3 separate regions of the Homo sapiens genome follow, and regions 1 and 3 are each linked to region 2. The links are contacts of gene promoters, found by promoter capture Hi-C in blood cells and fetal thymus (Javierre and others, 2016). All regions are on one chromosome and are shown on one strand. The core of a region is centred on a gene start or on the middle of the fragment in contact, and the rest is flanking DNA. Distances in the headings are between cores, read along the strand shown. Region 1 overlaps PHLDB1 (pleckstrin homology like domain family B member 1). Region 2 holds the start of ABCG4 (ATP binding cassette subfamily G member 4). Region 3 overlaps ARCN1 (archain 1 coat protein complex I subunit delta).

What was found. The method cuts DNA at HindIII sites, captures the fragments that hold promoters and counts their contacts. A CHiCAGO score of 5 or more calls a contact.
Region 1: a fragment that was not itself captured here is called in contact with the fragment with the promoter of ABCG4 in region 2 in 1 of 17 cell types (naive CD8 T cells); the score reaches 5.4 in naive CD8 T cells.
Region 3: a contact is called between a fragment that was not itself captured here and the fragment with the promoter of ABCG4 in region 2, in 1 of 17 cell types (non-activated CD4 T cells). The highest score is 5.6, in non-activated CD4 T cells.

The regions. Positions count from the first base shown.
Region 1 is chr11:118,633,498-118,636,898 of GRCh38, reverse strand. PHLDB1 (pleckstrin homology like domain family B member 1) reads right to left here. Exons shown (of 23, transcript NM_001144758.3): 10 at 1,351-1,506. Among named protein-coding and RNA genes, the nearest start is that of MIR6716, 8.8 kb to the left of the region's middle. RefSeq lists an enhancer at 1,359-2,029. The HindIII fragment of the contact is 2,788 bases long and covers 660-3,401 here.
Region 2 is chr11:119,146,913-119,150,730 of GRCh38, reverse strand. It overlaps ABCG4 (ATP binding cassette subfamily G member 4), which reads right to left and starts at 1,679. Exons shown (of 15, transcript NM_022169.5): 1 at 1,368-1,679; 2 at 528-777. The coding sequence starts at 765. RefSeq lists a silencer at 1,501-1,580 and an enhancer at 2,238-2,297. The HindIII fragment of the contact is 14,272 bases long and covers 1-3,818 here.
Region 3 is chr11:118,580,921-118,584,258 of GRCh38, reverse strand. ARCN1 (archain 1 coat protein complex I subunit delta) reads right to left here. Exons shown (of 10, transcript NM_001655.5): 2 at 2,750-3,013; 3 at 901-1,080; 4 at 245-450. Among named protein-coding and RNA genes, the nearest start is that of ARCN1, 10 kb to the right of the region's middle. The HindIII fragment of the contact is 3,699 bases long and covers 1-3,285 here.

The DNA.
Region 1 (3,401 bases), core at 804-3,303, 510 kb after region 2:
GAATCCACTACTGCCAAGCCCTCCCAAACTCCCTGGAGCTTATACTCACCAGAACCCCAAAGGGATGAGATTAGCTGATCTACAGCTCCCTACCGCATTCCCTCCAGAAAGAAAGAGGAAGAGGCTAGAGAAGTGCCCGCCCCTAGCCTCAGTGCAGTACAGTCGAAGGAACGTGGGATTTGGGCCAACAGGCCTGGGTTCCAATTCTGACTCTGAAGCTTATATAATGGGAGGCTTTGGGCAAAATGTGTAGCTTCTCCTACTCCTAGTTTCCTTGTCTATAAAATGGGAATAACAGCACTTGTCTTGTGATACCGTCCTAAGGACAGCATTGAGGTAATCCAAGGAAGGCTCCCAGCAAGGTGCCTGACACACACCCATGTGCTTAGGTGTGTCAATTTTCTTCCCTCCTTTCATCAGTCAGTCTTACATCCAGAAAGTGCGTTTGTAAGACAGCAGCTCAGGGAGAGAAGCATGGGATCTGGACTCAAGGAAAGTCCAGCAGCTCCCCACTTACCACCAACCCCAGGCTAACCAGCAAATCCCCTACGTCACCAATTTTAGACACCCCTCCCCAATCTCACCACCCTCACTTCCCCCACACTAACTCCAGCCAAGCAAAATGTACATGCATGTGTGCATGTGCATGGCCACAAGCTTCAGCCATAAGGGTGGAAGCTGCTTGAGCCATCCTCTCCAATCCCTCCCTCACCTCTTCCCAACCCTTACTAACACATACCTCCTCCCAGCTTTACTCCCCAAACATACACAGTCACCTGTGCCACCATCCTGTGGTCTGGCTGAGATCAAGAGCAGGTGATCACAGTATCTAGCTAGCGTGTCACAGCTGGCCAGGCCACAATACCCAATAACCCTTGTTTTATAGCTCAGCCAAGGCAGGGCTGAGCCATGGCTGGAACCGAAATGAATGCCCTTTCTAGGGCCCCTAGCTGGCTCTAATATCCAGATCTCAAATCTTTCTGTGTGTCCCAGCACTTCCACCAGACAAGAGCTCTGCAAGCACAGGGGCAAGCCTCCTCCTCCTCCATCTTTCACCTTCCTGCTGGGCCAGTGCCAAGCTCTGAATGGGAGCAGAATCCACTTTCCACTGGAAGACTGAGGGGAGTCAGAGCTTAATAATAGTTATTCTTCACCGAGTGCTCATTACAATCACATCCTATTCTGTCTTTACATCTTGTTTAATTCTCACAACAACCTGTTGTAATTCTCATTTTACAGACAAGGAAATCCAGGCACAAAAGACGAAGTTAACTTTTGTGAGGTCATTGGGATTCAAACCCAGGTCACTGGCCTCCAACAGCACGCAGCAGGGAACGAGGTGGGGCACACCTTCCTCTTGGCGATGCTGCGGAGCAGCTCAGCCTTGCTCCGGAGCAGCCCCTGGCCGGCCAGCTCGCGCTCCTCCTCCACGCGGCTCTCCCGCTCCAACTGCTGGAACTCCAAGTCCTCAAAGAGCTTTGTCTCAGTCTCCAGGGCCTCTGCCTCCTTCAACGACAGTGACAAAGGGGGTTGGGTGGTGCTTGCAATGCCACTCTGGGCCTGGAAGACCAGGCCACAGGGGCATGCGTTGTATGGGGCTGGACCCGGGGAAATTGGGTAAGAAACCTGCCTCCCCCCAGCTCCCGCTGTACTTGGCCTTGCCCTTTTGCGGGCATCATGGCCTGGAGCGCTGATTCCCCAACCTTCCCGGTTCCCTCCAAACCGCAGCACCGACCCTGGTGTCCGGCAGGTACTGCAGAGGCCAGGTGGTCCCGTCCCACCGCTCTCCTCTCTTCCTTCTGGGGCGTGGCCCGCGGGGCCGGGGGAGGGGGGGCGGTGGAACTGACCCTTCTCAGCTGCTCCTGTAACTGTTCCCGCACTGACTCGGGGCAGTTATCGAGCTGCGTCTGGAGCTCGGCGTAGAGCGCCTGGCGGGCCTCCAGGTGCCTCCGTCCCGCGGCCAGCTCCGCCCTCTCCTGGTCGGCGGGAGGGCGAGGGAGAGGGCGGGGCACAGGGGAGAAACAGAACACACACTCCTCAACTCCGGCCCGGCAGCGGCGGGAGGGGAGCGCGGGAGGGCGGCCAGGGCGGGACAGAATGGGGGTCGGCAATGGGGGTTGAGAGAGGAGAAAAAAAGGCTAGAATCAAAGAGGAGAATAACCAGGCGAGGAGAAAGAAAAGGGCAGAAAGGGAAAGTGAGGAGGGAAAGAGGTGAAGAGGGAGAGGGCCCAAGGCCAGGAGCTGAAGGTAACACGGCAGTCAGAGGTGCAGGGGATGAGGTAACACAGGCAGAGGTGTGGGGGCAGGGCACAGATTTTGGTCTCCTGAAGTCCCTTGAACTGAAATTGTTGGGTAGGTCTCGAGAAAAGGCCCTCTGTTTTCTCTCCAAACCAGTCAAGGCTGGTTCTGCATCACAGAGCCTCCAGCTCTCATCCCTCCCCTTCTACTACAGCCCAGAGACCAAAATTTAACCCAGGGAAAAAGGGTAGTGATGGTGAGGGTTAAATCCAGGGTTGGGCGTCAATCAGGAGCTGAGGATGTTAAAGCAGTGTGGCAGAGGGGACCCCAACCCAACACCCTTGGCCTCCCTCCCCTCCTGCCCAGGGTCGGGGTGGGGTGTTGGCCCTGCAGGCTGAACTTCAGGGATGAGGGTTGCAATTAGTTCGGGCTGTTTCCATGGTAATGAGTCCCAGGAGTGGGTACAGAGGGGGTGGACGGTTCTTTCTGGGGTGAGATGACACCTCTGAGGGTGGGAAGGGGGACGAGGGGAGGGTTTGGTGAGTCACCCCTCAAAGGACAGGCAGAGGAGAAACTGTGGTTACTGATTCCAAAGCCAGAGTGGAGCCATGGGCTGAGGGCAGGGGAGGGAAGCCAAGTGAACCCTCCACACCATTGCCATCACTACCACCATCACCACCACCACCATCACTACCACAGCCTCGAATAACCTCTCTTCCCCACAGAGAAAGCGAAGTCTAGGCCTCCAAAAAACTCCAGGTCAGTGGGAAATGAGGTTAGGCAGGTTCCTTCTGAAATGCTGAGCTTTATCCCTGGGAGTGAGGCCCTATGCTGAACCCAGTCACTCCCATCCCTCTACCCAACTCATCTACCCATCCCCAGAGAGGAGGACCTAATCAGGCCAGTTCCTGGGGTCTAGGTGCTTCCTCATCCTTGGACTCAGCCTTTAAAATACCCTGTGTTATAGGTGGCTCAGGAGTGAGGAGAAGAGTAGGGGCTACCCATTACCAACCTCTGATGGGTATCTGAATTTGGGAAGCCCCAAGGGAAAGCTAGGAAGGGTAGCCACTATGTTGGCAGAGAGGTCCTGTTCAAGCCCTCCAAGACCACGCCCACAACTGGGCCTCCTTACTCCTTGGCTCCAGAGGGCAGGCAGGGGAATA
Region 2 (3,818 bases), core at 430-2,929:
CAAGTTACTCAACTTCCCTGGGCCTCAGTTTCCTTATTAGTAACATGGAGATGACATCTATCCTGCCAAACCGCCACCCTCCCTGCTTCTGAGCACTGTGGTAAGAATGGAATAAGATGACAGGAATGAGAACGTCTTTATAATTAGGTCCAAGGGTATTGCTCAACCCTGCAGACACAGCCCCCTACTTTTTCATACCAGCCCTCACAGGTAGGAATCCTCCATAAACAAAAGAAGGAAAACTCATCAAGGACCACTCAAGGACCAGAGGTCACGGGATCTCTTTAGAAGATACAGCTTCAATAACCAATTGCACCTAGTATCCCATGGTGCTCACAGGTGTGGGGGAGCGTAGATCCTGACACCCCAAGAGTGCACAGTGAGCAACGGGCTGGGGCCCAGATTTTAGTGTTTCCACAGAGCCCACTGGTGCAGGACTTTCCGAACATGGGACACCCAGGCCTCATGCTTCTGGAGAGGCAACTCAGAGAGGGCCCACGGACTCCCCCTACCAGGCTGTTCCCTACCCCTTTTGCGCCAGCAGGGCCCCTCCCGCACGGAATAGGACAGCTCCACGAACTCGATGTCCACGGCTGAGCGCTTGGGTAGGTGGGAGAAGCGCTGGGCTTCAGTGATGTGGTTCTCCACCTTCTTCAGGTGCGTGGTCAGCACAGGGGGTTCCGCCCCGTCCTCCAGCGTCACGGCCATGGCCACAGCCCCCGGCCCTAGTCCACAGCCCACGGCCTCCAGCGCCTTCTCCGCCATCACGCCGCCGACCTGCAAGGGGAGGGCCTGCTCAGTTTGGGGCAGACCACCGAGCCCGGCTCAAAGCTCCCTGGCGTTCTAATGCTTCCCCCGCCCCCACTGCCCACCTCCTTCTCGGGGCAGATCCGCGACTGTTAGCCCCGCACTCTGCCCCCGCCCCCCACTCTCCGCACGGAGACGCTCAGTCCCGGGCAGCCCAGCTCCAGCCTGACCCCAGCCCGTCCCCTTGAAGCCCTCAATCGCTCCTTCCTCCCGGCGGCTTCTCTAATCTCCTTACCCCGCAGGCCAGCAGCCCCTGGGGACTGAAGGAATAGGGGGCGGGGGAGAAGAGGCAGCCGGCAGAGGCTGCCCGCTCTAGGAGGTCGGGGTAGCAGGGTGAGTGCAGGGCGGACCAGGGGAAGGCGGAGAGGAGGAGGCTTCAGGCCTCCGGCTGCGTCCCACTCCCCATCCCTTGGCGCGACGCCCAGGCCGGCCCCTCCCGCCGGCACCCCCGGGCCCGCGTGCCCCGGGCTGTCCCCAAAGCCAGGCGCACCACCCGGACTCAAAACTAAGCGCCCCACGGCAGCTCAAGCCCCCGCCCCATCTCCCGCATGCCTAGTCACCTTGACGCGCCCCCGGGCCGGTGCGGGGCCGGGATGCTCAGCGCTGCCACGGACCGGGGACGGAGAGCCGGGGCTCCCCTTACCTGCCTCGGGCTGCGGCACCCGCGTCCCGGCTCCCGGTCCCGGCGGCCCGGGCCGGGGCGGGGCCGGGGCGGGGCAGGCGAGGCAGGAGGGCCGGCCCTCGGCTCGGAGGAGACGGCAAGGATGGTGAGAGGCGGTTGGGGTCGCGCCCTGACTCTGCTGGGCTGTGCACACCCGCTTCCCAGAGCCTGGTCCCGGACGCTGTGTCCTCCGAGCCCGCGGGGCGACTGCGCTCTCCTACCAGCTACTGCTCGCCGGTCCCGCCGTTCTTAAAGGGCCCGCGCCGCCCGGCAGCCCGCGGGGGGCGAGGACGGCAAAGGAGAGAGCAGCGCTTGCGGCGCGGGGGCCGGAGGAGGTGCAGGGGTGAACTCAGGACTGGGGGTTGATGGCAAAGGGCCGACTTGGAGGCAGTGAGGAAAGGAGAGCTGGAGTCACTCCGTGGGGACAAGTCCCTGGAAGACAGATTAGGCAAGGGTGTTGGGGGTGGGGGAAAGTGGAGGGATTGTAAAGGTGTCAGTCTGTCTTCACACACGATACCAGTCCCCCAACAATTTCCCTCAGTTCCAGCCCATGAATGAGCGCAGGCCTCCCTCCAGGAATCCCCAAACGAGGTGCAAAGGCTTTCAAAAACGCAGGAGCCTTGGGACATTGGAACATCCTCCTGTCTCCCCATTCACACTTTCTCTGAGTTAGGACACTAATAAAGAAGGGAAAATGGCAGCAGCTTTGGGAGAGCCTGCAGTAGCTCCAGAGTTAAACTGGAACCCAGTGCTCAGCCTGCTCCGACTGTAGTCACCTAGCCAGATACAGGCCTTCAAGACAGGCACATGCCATATCCTGGAGGGACCTGTGTGCCAGGGCATGCACAGGGCTCGCAGACATGCCCTGGGCATCTCATGCACCTGCACATTCTCTCCCTTGCCCCCAAAGCCTTCAAATGTAGGTCCCCAGAACACACTTGGGGCTTTCCCCTGCTCTGCCCCTTTCTCAGCCAATTCCTCTTGGCCCTTGCCTGTCCCAGCCACTATGTCTTCAAGGGGTAAGTAGGTTAGCTAGCCAAGACACGTGATCTGAGCTTTTAAGTTCCCACCTGTCACACAGCAGAGACGATGGGGAGGGAAGGCTCTGAGGCTGCTGGTGTGACTGCCACCGCTGAGGCTTCTCCTTACTGCAGCAGTTGAGGGTTACTAGCAGTCAAACCTCTCCCCTGCTGGCCCCCCTCCCAACCACCTCTCCACAGCCCTAAAAGCTGGCGATCCCTGGAGGATTTCTCTAGGCCCCGCCCTGTTACTCTGAGGTTTGTGTGGGGTTTGGATCCAGTCTTTCCTATCTTCCCCCAACTCCATGCCCCACATCACCACCATTCCTCAGGACCAACCTCCTGTTCTCCAGATGGACCCTCCATTCTCCAAGTCAACTTCTCATCAGCTACTATAGACCTCCCCATCCCCCAACAGTTGCATTTATTAACTACTTTGTACCAGGCATTATGTTATTTAATCTTCACAATATCCCTATGCGACAGGTTTTACAACCCCCCTTTAGAGATGAAAAACTGAGGCATAGGGAGGTTAAGCAATAGTTGGTGGCAAAGCAGGGCTTGAATCCCAAAGTCCCTGATTTTACCCTGCTAATTGGGCCTCTCAGAACCTTATTCCCAAATGGACTGTCTCCCTCTATTTTCTAGACAGGCTCTTCATCCTCCTGAGATAACCTCCATGTCTTAATGCCACCCAGCTTTATTCTTTGGCACACAACTTTCTTTCTTTCTTTCTTTCTTTCTTTCTTTCTTTCTTTCTTTCTTTCTTTCTTTCTTTCCTTTCTTTCTTTCTCTTTCTTTCTTTCTCTCTCTCTCTTTCTCTCTTTCTTTGCTTCTTTCTTTCTTTCTGATATAGTCTCGTTCTGTCACCCAGGCTGGAGAGCAGTGGTGAGATCTCAGCTCACTGCAGCCTCTGCCTCCCAGGTTGAAACGATTCTCCTGCCTCGGCCTCCTGAGTAGCTGGAACTACAGGCACACACCACCACACCCGGCTAATTTTTGTATTTTTTGTAGAGATGGGGTTTCACCATGTTGACCAGGCTGGTCTCGAATTCCTGACCTCAAGTGATCCTCCCGCCTCAGCCTCCCAAAGTGCTGTGATTACAGGCATGAGCCACCACACTCAGCAGATTAAGATTTTTTATTCTCAAGAGTAGACTATAGGCCAGGCATGGTGGCTCACACCTGTAATCCCAGCACTTTGGGATGCCAAGGTGGGTGGATCACTTTAGGTCAGGAGTTCGAGACCAGCCTGGCCAAGATGGCGAGACCCCATCTCTACTAATATTACAAAAATTAGCTGGGCATGGTGGCTCATGCCTATAATACTT
Region 3 (3,338 bases), core at 187-2,686, 570 kb after region 2:
ATAAGGCAACTCTCATAGGAAACTGAGGTCATGACATAATTTATAACTCTCTTTTATACAAAAGGAAAAACACCACATTCAGATTTCTTCTTTATCCTCATATTGTATGTGGCCAAATGTAACATCATATCTTACTTCATCAAGTCCTTCTTTATTTACAGCTTTCCAAGAAATCAGATTATGACTTCAAAGATAGACACATATACACCCTTCACCTGGTATTCTAAAGTACACTGGATTATACCTGGCTGGTGCAGGTGCCACTTTTGGTTTATCAGTTTCAATGATGGTCTCTGTGATCATGGCAGCTGTGCTGCCTCCAGATACTGCAGAGCTGCCAAATCCGCCAAATCCTGGTGCTTTTTTGCCCTGTCTCTCTGCATCTCTTCGGGCCTGTTGTAATTCCTTTGCTTTACGACGCATCTCAGCCTTAGCTTCACGTTCTTGAGTCTACAGAAAAAGACATACATTAATGTAGCTTTTTTTTTTGGGTTTTTGTTGAGACAGGGTCTCACTCTGTGACCCAGGCTGGAGTGCAAGTGGCACAATCACAGCTCACTGCAGCCTCAACTTCCTGGGCTCAAGTGATCCTCCCATCTCAGCCTCCCAAGTAGCTGGGACCCACATGCACGTGCTACCATGCCTGGCTAATTTTTTTTTTACTTTTTATAGAGACAGGGTCTCACTACGCTGTCCAGTCTGGTCTTGAACTCCTGGACTCAAGTGATACTCCCACTTCCGCCTCCCAAAGTGCTGAGATTACAGACATGAGCCACTGTGCCTAGCCTGGACATAGTTTTGAATACAGTCTACATTAGTAAGTAAAAATAGGAAAATGAGATTAGTGAAGCCTAAGAGAAAGACATACAAACAGGTAGTCCCAGAGAAGATCCTATTTACCTCTCTGACGGCTCTGAACACCTTCTCCTCATGAGAATCCATTTCTGTGAAGGTTCTGATCTGTGCCAAGTTAACATTCTCCCGGTATCCCAGTGCGACAATTTCATCAAAAGCAAAAATCAAATCAAAACAGTGCTCAGATATTTCATTCTCTTCTAAGGCTCGGCAATATTCAGGGATCTAAGCGTGGACACCAATAAAAAAGAAAGATTTAGAATTTATCAGCAGCTATATTTCCAAGTCTTATCCTTTAGAGTACATAAATTTCAATAACCTAAATCCCTTTATTAGCTACTTCTAGTCTTTATTTTATTTTTTGGGACAGAGTCTCGCTCTGCTGCCCACGCTGGAGTGCAGTGGTGCCATCTCGGCTCACTGCAACCTCCATCTCCTGGGTTTAAGTGATTCTCCTGCCTCAGCTTCCGGAGTAGCTGGGACTACAGGTGTGTACCACCACGCCCAGCTAATTTTTGTATTTTTAGTAGAGACGGGGTTTCACCATGTTGGCCAGGCTGGTGTTGAACTCCTGACCTCAGGTGATCCGCTTGCCTCAGTCTCCCAAACTGCTGGGATTACAGGCGTGAGCCACTGCGCCCAGCCTAACTCCCTGATTTTTTTTTTTTTTTTTTTTTTAAGACAAAGTCTAACTCTGTCACCCGGTCTGGAGTGCAGTGGCACGATCTCGGCTCACTGCAACCCCCACCTCCTGGGTTCACGCAATTCTCATGCCTCAGCCTCCTGAGTAGTAGGATTATGGGTGCCCGCCACCATGCCCAGCTAATTTTTTTGTATTTTGAGTAGAGACGAGGTTTCACCACGTTGGTCAGGCTGGTCTCAAACTTCTGACCTCAGGTGATCCACCCGCCTCAGCCTCCCAAAGTGCTGGGATTACAAGCGTGAGCCACCACGCCCAAGACCCTGATTCTTACAGCCGGGTGCAGCGGCTCATGCCTGTAATCCCAGCACTTCGGGACGCCAAGATAGGCAGATCACCTGAGGTCAGGAGTTCGAGACCAGCCTGGCCAACATGGTGAAACCCCGTACAAAAATTAGCCAGGCATGGCGATGCACATCTGTAATCTCAACTACTCGGGAGGCTGAGGCCAGAAAATTGCTTGAACCTGGGAGGTGGAGGTTGCAGTGAGCCGAGATTGCACCATTGCACCACTGCACTCCAGCCAGGGCAAGAGCGAGACTCCGTCTTTAAAAAAAAAAGAATCAGGGTCTTGCTGTGTTGCCCACACTAAAGTATAATGCCTGTGCACTTGAACTCCTGGCCTCAAGCAATCCTTCTGCCTCAGCCTCCTGAGTAGCTTGGACTACAGGCACATGCTACCGCACCTGGCCTTAGCCTTCATTTTAAGCAAGACTTTGGCATAAAGTCTTAAAAGGTGTGTGTGTGTGTGTGTGTGTGTGTGTGTCTGTCTGTCTGTCTGTCTCTGGATCAGTAAGTCTTACCTAAGTCTTCATTTTAAGCAAGACTTTGGCATAAAGTCTTAGAAGAGGGGTGTGTGTGTGTGTGTCTGTCTCTGGATCAGTAAGTCTTACCTAAAAAACATTACCTAAAAAGCATAGCCAAACAAGTGTCAGAACTAGAACGGCAGATTAGAACAACTGCTTAAGAACTGGGAAATGAAACAGTAGTTCCCATATTCTTTTGAGACATCTATAGTCTAAGAGGACACCCAATAAATGTCTGCTGAATAAACAAGGTGCTGCAGCAATAAGTCGCTGGGGTGCGGAGTAGGAACCTGCAAACTGGTTAGCATCAGCTGCTTTGGAGGAAAAACTAGTTTCACATAAAATGTAAAACAAAAAGTGGAACCCAGTATTATAGCAGTACTCTTACCACTCTTGAGAAGAGCCTTAGGGTCTCCAAATCTTCTAAAATGTTGCTGTTTTTGGTAGTGATCAGTACCATATACAGTTTCTCCATAGGCTGGTAGACATATCTTACACTCTCTGTTTCAACAAACGTATGTTGTTTTCCAGTGTTCATGAGCTTTGGAAAAGCTGCTAATAAGCCCTCAATCCGAGTTCGGGTCATTTCCACAAACTGTCGAGAAACAATAGCCTTTCCTGCTTTTGTGCAGACCGCTGCTGCCAACAGCACCTGCCAGGAACATATGCATAAGTAAGTACTAATTATTTCTTCACATCTGTTTTCTCAGCATCTCAGGAAATGTTCCATAGAATGACATATTTATTTAGTGACATGACTAGTAGTAGTATTATTTTTAAGACAGGGTCTCACTCTGTCACCCATGCCGGAGTGCAATGGCAAGACCACAGCTCACTACAACCTCAAACTCCTGGGCTCAAGAAATCCTGAGTGGCTGGGACTACAAGTGTGTGCCACCAAGCCTCGCTAATTTTTAAAAAGCTTTTAGTAGAGACAGTATCTCGCTATGTTTCCCAGGCTGGTCTTGAACTCCTGG